2 separate regions of the Homo sapiens genome follow, and region 1 is linked to region 2. Evidence: promoter capture Hi-C in 16 types of primary human blood cells and fetal thymus (Javierre and others, 2016). All regions are on one chromosome and are shown on one strand. The core of a region is centred on a gene start or on the middle of the fragment in contact, and the rest is flanking DNA. Distances in the headings are between cores, read along the strand shown. Region 1 holds the start of LOC101928859 (a long non-coding RNA gene). Region 2 holds the start of LRRTM3 (leucine rich repeat transmembrane neuronal 3).

Region 1 (5,277 bases), core at 951-3,450, 3.0 Mb after region 2:
CTGACAATGATTCCACTATGCTACCATCTGCAGAATTCCGCTTTCTCTCTGAAAGCAACTTCCTGCCTGGATAATACAGTCAGTGGAAACGCAAAAGGAGAGCCATATGTCACAATACATGCACATTGCATTCCATGCTCGCTCTCTTGTCCCACTATTATTTTTCATGCCAGTCACTAGTTATGAGCGTTTGTTGCTTTAAATGACTTCCTCCAAAGATATGCTGGATTCAAATTCAATTAGAAGTGGAAAGGAAAAACACAGCAAGCAGCTTTCTCCTTATGTCCAGCTCAGTAGGAACTCAGATTCTGAATACTGCCCAGGAGATCTTTAGCCATCTTTCCTCACATACGGTTTCCTTTTCCTATAATTTAAAAGGACTAGGATGAATGAACAGACACCTGAACAATTCTGTGGGCTAAGCAGAACCCCCAGGAGTCAAATCTGTAGGTTGAATTCTCCAAGTTCATACAACAGACGCTCCAGTTAATTTTCTCATGTGACCCGCATTCCTTCCCAGACTATCTTTCCTGCAGTCTTTTTTAAGCAGACAAGAGCCCATGGAACCCGCCCTCTGACACACTGGATTGAAGCGGAAGGAGCACCTGGGATAATCAATGTCTCTCTCCCGAAAATGTGGAATTGGAACAAAGAGACTATATATAGTGAGTTGAATTTGGATGTGGGAGCTTAAAGGTCACGTTTGGTGGAGGGTAGAGGGAAGAGCTGGGCCAGCCATTTCTTAAAGTGTACAAGAAGCAACAAAGAAACCCATGTGGGGTGGAGAAGAGAACAAAGCCAAGAGAAGAAGGAGTCTGAGAAAAAAAAAATGTAGTGATCTCCCTAACTCTAGGTTTCTCATCCTCAGCATTATCAACACTTGGGGCTGGATCATTCTTTGTTAAGGGAACTGTGCTGTGCACTGTAGGAGGTTTAGCAGCGTCTGTGGCCTCTGCCCACTAGAAGTCTGTAGCTCACATCTCCCACCCCAGGGTAAAAAACATAACTATCTCTATACATTGCCAAATGTCCCCTAGACAGCAAAGTCGCCTCAACTTAAGAACCACTGCCCTGACTAAACATTTGTTTATTTATCCCTCAACAGGCATTATGCAGGGCAAAACCCAAGTCATCCTCAACTCTCATCATTCATATCCTGCATCCAATCCATAATTAAAATCAGCCACCTCTGCCTTTGAAATATACCCAGAATCCAATCATTTCTCATGACATTCATTTTGACAACTCTGGTCCAAGCTACCCTCATCTCTCCCTGAATTATCCCCAAAGCCTCCCACCTGGCCACCCTCACTCTACCCTAGCCCGCACCAGAACATTTTCATATAGCAGCCAAAGAGAGCCTTTTAAAATGAAAGTCTCCTCATGTCACTCTCCTACTTCAAACCCACCAAGGTCTTCTATCACTATAAGGACCAGTCAGAGTCTTTATATTGGCCTATAAGATCCTTGAAGATTTTGCCCCCACTTGTCCCTCTAATTCACTTCTTACTGCTATCCCCCTTACTCATTCCACTCCAGTTCCGTTGACCTCCTTGCTGTTCCTCAAACATGTTAAGCACATTCCTGTCTCCAGGCCTTTGCAAAGGCTGTTCCCTCTGCCAAGAATGCCTTTCCCCCAGATATTTGGCTTGCTTCCTCATGTCATTCAGATCTCTACCCAAATGTTTCCATATCAGAAGGGCTTCTGTGATTACCCTTTTTGAGATAGCAACTCCCATTGCCTCTCTTCCCTACCACCCCTACCCTGCTTTACCCCATGTATTCATTGTGTTTGTTTATTATCTGTCTCTCCATCTAGAATATAAACTCACAAGAGCACAGCTTTGCCTTGTTTACTGCTGTGTCCACCAGCCTCTGACCTAAGCAGTGATGGCGCTGCTGAATGATGTGCGGACTACTGTGAGTGCAAAGATGATCACTCTATTGCTTTATCAGAGCAAAACTGGAAATAATCTAATTCTCTAACAATGAGGCAATGGTTAAATAAACTATGACTTATATGTGCAGCGATTTAAAAACTTATGTATTCAAGGTTTCCCAGGTTAAATTGAAATCTTGCCAGTAAACCCTAACATAACTTCCACCAACTCCACAAAATACTTGTGGAACCCAGACATAAATGAAAACTGATGTAACTGAAAACTAGGGTTGTATATCAACCTGTTCCCAGAATCTGGGAGGAATTTTCATTAATAACAAAGAAAATAAAACCAGACTCTCTTGTAACTTCCAGAAACAGAGTCTGTACACTTGAAAGTAGGTAGATGTACTTGTCAGTACTCCCTACTTCCGGCTCCCTGAATTAATCAACTAGTATTTACTGTGCAAATACCAAATATTGAAAGCTGTCCAAAATGCTTTAAGGTTATAAAGATGTCTCAGACCTTAATAATAATCACCAGAGCAGTAACTATTATGCCACCCTACCTTTGAATGCTCTGCACTGCTGAAGCACACACACTCCAACAGGGACTATCTTGCGTGATCTTCATGATTGCACTGAGACAGGCAGAGGAAGGTTTGCTTTCCTGTTTGACCTCTTTTCAAGAAAAATTTATCAGACTGGGATAAAAACAGGGTGTTCATCTGAAAAGATTGTCCCAGCTGGAGTATGTACTGAGAGGTGTGCAGAGGAAAGAAAACCACTACACGTGGATGAAGCATCCAGCGACTGCCATCAGAGGGAGCCATCACAACACGCAGACCGGAAGGTGCAAAGGGAGGCAATAGCGCCACGGGAGCCCAGCGAGGGCCCCCAGCCGCAGCAGTGCGGCTGCGCAGTGGGAGTTGTAGCCATGGGAACAACCTAGGGACCTGGCAAGGAAAGACTAGGCCAGACCTTAGCACCCCCTGTCAGGGACTTCCTGCTGGTTAATCCTGCTTCCTCTGCCAGCAGGAAGTCAGCTAGCAAAGAAGCCCCAATGATATAGTCTACAGCAGGCAGCCTGCCAGGGTGCAGAGCAGGGTAGAAAATGGATCGGAAGGGCAAAGGTGAGGTAGAGTTGGGAGACTTACCTGAGGTCACATAGTCAGCTTCACCTGATTGTCAGGAAAGTAACCCTGTGAACCCTAGCTGGGGAGAAGAACCTAAAGGCAAGAGAGAGAACCGTTCTATAGGACCCGGGAGGATTTGCCATCATCTGAAGGAAGGTAGGGTTCCATACAGTCTCTGGAAGATGAGGTAAGAATAGTCAGTGATCCAGTTTGATTATGTAACCACATGGAGCAAGAGCTCTAAATTTACCATTGAAAATATCTTCCCAACAATGTCAGGCAGAAAATTGTTAGGCCAGCCGGGAAAGGCTCAGGTCTGGGAAGAGTCATTCCAAACCCAGAAAAACAATGACTCAGAAGAAATGATCTTCCATTTCCTAATTCTTAATTCTTAATACCAAATAAAATCCTTCTTTTTGCAAGCTAGAGATTCCCAGCTAATCATGCTGTGTTTTGCTCTGATTAACCTTTGATATAGGCATTTCCTCTTTTTTTCTTTTTTTTTTTTTTTTTTTTGGTTGTTTGATGCCAAGCTCTCCTTAAAGGTCAGTGAGCATCATACCTAATCTGGCTTCTAATTACATTTGTAAACATTTCAGAATGAATAAATGCCAACATAATTAACCACCCGGCATATTATCTGCTCTCTCCCTTTGCCCAGAGTACAGATATCCAGCAAAGGAGCAGCCCAGGCTCCTCTGACACTCATATTTGTGATATGGAAATTATTTGATTGAGTCTATTTAAATCAGAGTTTCCTAAGATTCATTGTCAGGCCACTACTAGGCACAAAGATCACCTGAGGATCATAGTAAAAATACAGATTCCCGAGCACTTTGGGAGGTCGAGGCGGGCAAATCACGAGGTCAGGAGATCAAGACCATCCTGGCTAACATGGTGAAAACGCATATCTGTTAAAAATACAAAAAAAAAAAAAAATTAGCCGGGCACGGTGGCGGGCGCCTGTAGTTCCAGCTACTCAGGAGGCTGAGGCAGGAGAATTGCGTGAACCTGGGAGGCGGAGCTTGCAGTGAGCCGAGATAGCGCCACTGCAGTCCAGCCTGGACGAAAGAACGAGACTCCGTCTCAATTAAAAAAAAAAAAATACAGATTCCCAGATCCTAGTCCTAGAATTCTAATTTGTTCTGGCTGGGGTGGGGCCTAGAAATCTGCATTTCTTCCTTATATTACTTTTCCAATACTGATATAAAATCCAGTTTGTAAGCCACTGATTTAGATCATTTTTCCCTTGGCATGAAGTCCATCATACTCAGTCATCTCTACTCTTATCCCCTAGTCCATAGTACCCCTTACTTGCAGGCTCTTTTATGACATTTTACCTTCTAAAGCACATTATCCTGACTCCCTCTCTTCTAATTGAGAGGGGCTAGATGATCTAAAAATTTCCCTTCAGCTTTAACTTTCTAGGAATTTATGATTCACTGGCACAGAAACGGTAGAGTGAAAATTCAAGCATTGCATAATTTGTCCCAAGGCCTATCAGTGGTCCATCCAGTGTTAATGGCCTTCTTCATTCTACTAGTGAACAGAGTCACCAGGCCAGCACCTCCACACCTGTGACCAAAGGCAAACCCAGGGCCAACATGGCAGGCTGGGCAAAGAAGCTGAAGCAAGGTCCCAGCTCTTTCTAGGACCCACATTAAAACCTAAGGACTACTTGCCAGGCCAATTGGCTTCACAAACACTATGTCATCTCTCTGGGAGTAAAAAAGTAGGCACCAAGACAAGGGAAATCCCCCAATAAGATGACTAACTCTCATCCTTAGCAGGCTGTGTCCCCAAGCCTGTACAAATCCTCAAGTCCTGCTCTGTCTTAGGGCTTTTGTGCTACTATAACAAAATACCATAAGCTGAGTAATTTGTAAACAATAGAAATTTATTTCTCATATTCTGAACACTAGAAGGTCCAAAATCAATGCACTGGCAGGCTCAGTGTTTGGTGAGGGCTGCTCTTTGCTTCCAATATGTTGCTGTGTTCTCACATGATGGAAGGGACAGAGGGGCAAAAGGAGGCGAATTCATTTCCTCATGTCCTTTTAGAAGTGCTAATCCTATCCTTGAGGGTGAAGCCCTCGTGACCTAATCACCACCTAAAGGCCTCACCTCTTAATATTGTTGCACTGGGGTTGTGTTTCAACATGAATTTTGAAGGGGACACAAACACTGAAATCATAGCACGCTCAGACTGCCCTTTTCCCCAGACGGCTTCCAACTCTAACTCACTATGCTTGCAGCAATTCC
Region 2 (5,285 bases), core at 155-2,654:
GCACAGGGATGGTTCTCAGGGAGTTAGACCGTAAATGTAAACTCAGCAGCTTCCGCAAGCCCCGAAACTGTTCAGATCCCAGAGAATGCAGCTGATTATAGGACAGATCCAAGTTCCGTAAATTTGTCACAGGTCTGAAGGTATTGTTAAGAAAATAGGAGATTCTATTGGAACTAAGAATCAGCTCTTTGAGTCTGCGTATTCCATTAAAAGCATTTTCGTCAATATTGCTGATATGGTTATGGTCAAGGTATAGCCAGGTGAGCTGGTTGAGCCCTTTAAATTGATTATACTTAAGTTTTTGAAGGCTGTTATAGCGAAGGGACAAACCTAAGCAACCAGCAGATATACTTGAGGGTATCTCCTGTAATTTCTGAGATTCACAATATACCATTTTGCCTTCACACCTACAGCCCTTAGGGCATCCTCGTTCGGCAGAAGAAAGCATTGTCAGTAAGACAGTGGGGGCTATAACCAGTGCTACAGCTGATCCGCTCAGTAGCCTAATTACATTGAAACCTGGAAATAAAAACAACTTAGAAAAGTTATCCCCCCAAAAAAGAATTAATCCTTAATCAAGCAAAAATAGGCATATATTTTTCATTTTTAAAAATTTAAATCTAAATAACACTTAACATCACATATTATCTCTTTGTAATTAAAGAGAATTGTCTTTAGTGTTTTGTTTTTTTAAATAGTTAAACAAGGAAACATGCCACTAAGCAAATAAATTCATAGTCTTAGAGCAGAGCAAGGTAATCTCTAAAATAATTAAGGCAGAATTATTACACACACTAGAGGTTTTTTGTTTTTTGTTTTTAAGAAGGAAAGAAGAAAAATGACAAAACATACCCATCCTTTGTATTGTTCAAAGGTCGTCCTTAGGTCTTTTGCTTTGGCTTAGGGGCCAGTTGCATGACAGCCCCTGTCAGCTGCACTGTAGTGAGTCAGGGCTCGCTGACACCCAGGAAGAAAAATTGGACCCCTTGGGAGATGGACCGATTTTGGAACATTATTCTTTGCCAGCCACGCAGAACACTCCAAGAACAAATAAATCCCAACACCGCATTCGCAGCAAAACATCAAAATCTTCCTAGGTAATAGGATCTTCATGGATATTACGTTTTTGCATCTTTACAGTTTTTTGGGGGGTGGGGAGGGGGCGGTTAAAAAAAAAACTGGATCCTACAATTTCTTCTTATCGAAAAACATGATGTATTCTTCCAGGCAATTTGGGGCTACCTGAGCTGCCACATCTGTATTCCATACCCCAGCAGTTCCCGTGATGAGCACCCAGTTCAGCCACAGAGCTGCGTTGGAGCCCAGAAGGCAGGAGAGCCCCGTACCGCGCACACGCTCAGCTCACTTCTGCAGACTGTCATTCTGAAAGCTGCTCGGACTGTTGCTTTGGTTTCAGTGAATGCAGTCTTATGTAAAGCTGCCCCCAGTGGTGAAGAACATTATGGGCATGTGCAGAAATGTCTCTCTTTTATCTTGCAAATGAGCAGGCTCTCTGCTGGAAAATGAATGATTCTTTTGGGTGGCTCAGTAGGAACTGAATGGTCACCGTGATCAATAACTAGCAACATTTTCTGTGATTTCCAAGTCTTGTTTTACAATTTGGCAACGTCTTTATTGTCTGTGTCCACTTAATTGCTAAACATGTGCTGCCCAGAGTTTTTCTGGAGCTTGACATTAAGTTCACAGACCGAACGTCAATTTTTCTTAACCTCAACGCAGGCTTTAAACTGAAATTTATAAAATGAATTATTGAGCTTTTCACAGAGAAGCATTAACTGCCTGCCCATTTGACCTCTTGGAGTCACAGTGATTATATTATGCAAGGTGTCTCAGGATGTTAGAACACAAACATTTTGGAATAGAGGGGATGACTGATGACAAGTGAATTAATGTGTCCAATAGCCTTTCCGGTTTTCTCACAGACGATATAATTGATTTTATGGCTATAGTTTCGTTTGTTGTTTTGGTTGTTGTAATTCTCTTTTAATTAGAAGGGAAATAAACCATTTTTAGTGTTAGGATACGAATCAAGAGATCATTTGGTTCATACTTTATTGATGTTGCTGCTATTTATTACACTAATAATATTTATGGAGCACTTTCTAAGTGCTTTAAATGGGCTACGTTGTTTTCTCTTTAAACAATAGTATGATGTGGGTCCTATTATAACCTCTCTTTTAAAGATGAGGAAACAGACTTGGGGAGGTAACTTTCTCAAGGTCATACAGCAAGCGAGTGCTAGAGCTGAGCTTCAGAAGCGAGTCATTCTTATGCCGAACCACTAACCACTAGATGATCCTGTTCAACAACATTGTTATCTTCATTTAAAAAAGAAGTCAGTGAAAATGAAGCCGATTAAAGGATTGGGGCAAGGAAGCTGTGATTAGCAAATTCTTGCTTGTTCTATTAGAATTGCCTAAATTTCTTTTGGTCTGAGGTTCCTAAAGAAGTATAAAAACTAAGGCAGCGTAGTTTAGTGATTAACAGCATAGATTTTGGCACCTAGATTCCAACTCCTGGCTACAATTTACCAGCTATGTAACCTTAAGCGCGTTACTTACCTTCCCTATGCCTCAGTTTTCTCATCTGCAAAACGGGCATAAAAACAAAAACTCACTTCATGTTTTGAGAATTAAGTCATTTTAATATCTGTATGTTACTTAGAACAGTGTGTTGCATGCAATAAGCCTGTGTAAGATATTTGAATAATATTAACTTTATTTGTACTTGCTAGGATTACGTACTGAATATTGACTATACTGACCTTCATTAACTCACAAAGAACAACTTTAGTGAGCATTTTTAAATATTGTACATGGTGGATTTCTGAGATTTACTCAGTCTTGCCTTCTTTGATGAGATAACTTCCTTTATGTTCATCATCTGAACTTTATCTTTAAAATAAATCTTCTGGTTCTGTGGATCATGACTAATAATGTTCGATTCTTTTCATCTCCAAAGTAGAACATAATAACATCTGCCATGTAGAGGCATTTTATTTAAAAATAATGGTATTCTTGAAAAAGTTTGCCTTGTTGTTTTTTGTTAGGTGAACTGTCTGTGGAAAACCGTGGAGAGCTTTCACATTCTCCAAGGATGAGATGTTTGATAAAGGCTAGTAATGACAATCAAAAGGGGTCCTACAGATATAGTACAATGGATATTACCAATTCCTTGGGCAGTATGTTCTTAATAGGGCAGTGCTTTCCCCCAGAGTTACCTAAGCTGTGAATGCACATGAAACATCCAGTGAGTTTCTTAAAAAGATAGACTGCCCAATCCCTCCCCCAGGATTCTCATTCTAGGGGGATGGAAGAGTGTGTGCTTTTCAATAGTCTCTGATGAAATAAGTTTAAGAAACTCACTGTGAAGGAATGATTAAAAATAATATTTTCTCCTAGTAGGAAGAGAGGGTTTGCACACTTATAATACTGAGATGTAAGTTCCACAAGGACAAAGACAATGTTTTGTCTACTTCATTTTTCCTAATATCTACAACAGCACTTGGCACATTGCAGACATGCAATAAATAGCTATTGAAAAAAATATGTTTTTATATCAGTCACAAGTACAATGGATATAGTATAACTGATTATGTAATGTTCAACATTTGTACATGGGATTGAGTCCTGAAAATTTCCTCAGTCAGTGAGACTGGAAACAATTTTGGAGAAAGTATTCTTAAAGGAGGTATATACAAAGACAAAAACTAGAAAGTGAGAAAACTTAGTTGATCAGAAAGTGATCTTTACTTTTCACAGATATCTTGTCTTCATAGTTAAACTACAAATTTCATGAGAACAGTAAATATGCTTTTGACTATTCTCCTTTGCACAGCACAGAAGGGTAATACTGAACCCTTATCATTTAATATCCCAAATGGGCTTGACAACTTGTATCTCTCAAAAACAGACTAATGAGAATTATATTGATAACTTCTCTCTCACACCTCTGTTGCTTGAAAGGCTCTGAGTTTTCCCCTCACTCTCCCACGTAGTCATTGAGACATCTGTTTTGCCCAAGAGCTGCAGAGAGCCACTCCAGGAGGCTGGAGGACCCATTAACTTTGTGCTTCTTGCTCATCATACTTTACTTCCCATTGACAGAAGAACAGAGGAACCCACTGAGAATGTGGGCTCTCACTTTGCTTTTCCTGGGATAAATCTTCTTGAATTATTTACGGTGAATATTATTCTCTGCTGTGTTACACACATTGCTCTTAGTTTTCAGACATTTTTCTTTTATCTTGGTTCCTGATCTTATCTTACTGCATAGTTCTGACTTTACACCTACCCTTTGGATCTTATGATTAATATTTATTTAGTCTTAATACTAACAACTGAGGGTATAAAATATTAGAGTGAGTAAATAAGACCTAGTATTGGCTAGCACAATGGGGTGACTATAGTCAATAATGAATTAATTGTGCATTTAAAAATAACTAAAAGTATAATTGGATTGTTTTTTATACAAAGCGTAAATGCTTAAGGGCATGGATACCACACTTACCCTTATGTGATTATTACACATTGCATGCCTATATCAAAACATCTCATGTACCCCATAAACATGCACACTTACTATGTACCCACAAAAATAAAAAATAAAATAAAAATAAAACAAAACTATATGACAGGAATGATGTGCTACAACAAAAATTGCTTTGGTAGCAATGTATTGATTGACAAGGAAAAATGTTCATAATGAAATAATATTAAGGAAAAAAATACTGACCATCAATCTCTTTCTCAACAGTAATCAGTAGCCACTCTTGGACTGAGTCAGCCTCCAGGAACTGTGTATGGCCCCTACTTTGGCACGACCCCTTAAGTCGGCATCACAACCAGGTCTGATCTGGTTCAGGATAATAAATTGTTTGAAGAGGGAAGATTATCCATGAGGCTAGTTGAGAAATCCAAAACAAAATAATGTGATTCTAAGCCACACTGAATACTTGAGGCTGCAGAAGTTACTGCAAAGACATAGAGTAGTCCCTCAAGAGAAAAAGAAAAGACTGTGTTCTAAAAGATTTTAGTAATTTGCCTGTATACTTTTTAAAAGTTTTTTCTCCTTTTACTTGTCGACTATAGCGAGCTGATTATTTCTGATTTGCCTTTCAGCAGAAGCAAAATTATATTGCATTATGTATTTAGAAACTAGCAACTTCTTTTGCACTTAATATCGCATACAGAACAAACCGTAAACTACCTGACGAGTTAAATATCCCCAATGCATCCAGGGCCTTAATGATTTATACAATTATA

The links. Contacts are between HindIII fragments. The CHiCAGO score rates a contact against its expected background, and 5 or more counts as called.
Region 1: a contact is called between a fragment that was not itself captured here and the fragment with the promoter of LRRTM3 in region 2, in 1 of 17 cell types (M2 macrophages). The highest score is 7.6, in M2 macrophages.

What each region holds. Positions count from the first base shown.
Region 1 is chr10:63,884,848-63,890,124 of GRCh38, reverse strand. LOC101928859 (a long non-coding RNA gene) reads left to right here and starts at 3,031. Exons shown (of 4, transcript XR_246119.4): 1 at 3,031-3,171. All of the region lies in intron 1 of LOC124902439 (a long non-coding RNA gene), which reads right to left. The HindIII fragment of the contact is 8,813 bases long and covers 1-5,277 here.
Region 2 is chr10:66,922,155-66,927,439 of GRCh38, reverse strand. LRRTM3 (leucine rich repeat transmembrane neuronal 3) reads right to left here and starts at 1,404. Exons shown (of 3, transcript NM_178011.5): 1 at 853-1,404; 2 at 1-519. The coding sequence starts at 856. The region is part of intron 7 of CTNNA3 (catenin alpha 3); the gene reads left to right. The region is part of intron 3 of LOC101928961 (a long non-coding RNA gene); the gene reads left to right. RefSeq lists a silencer at 1,432-1,541 and an enhancer at 1,161-2,017. The HindIII fragment of the contact is 12,033 bases long and covers 1-5,285 here.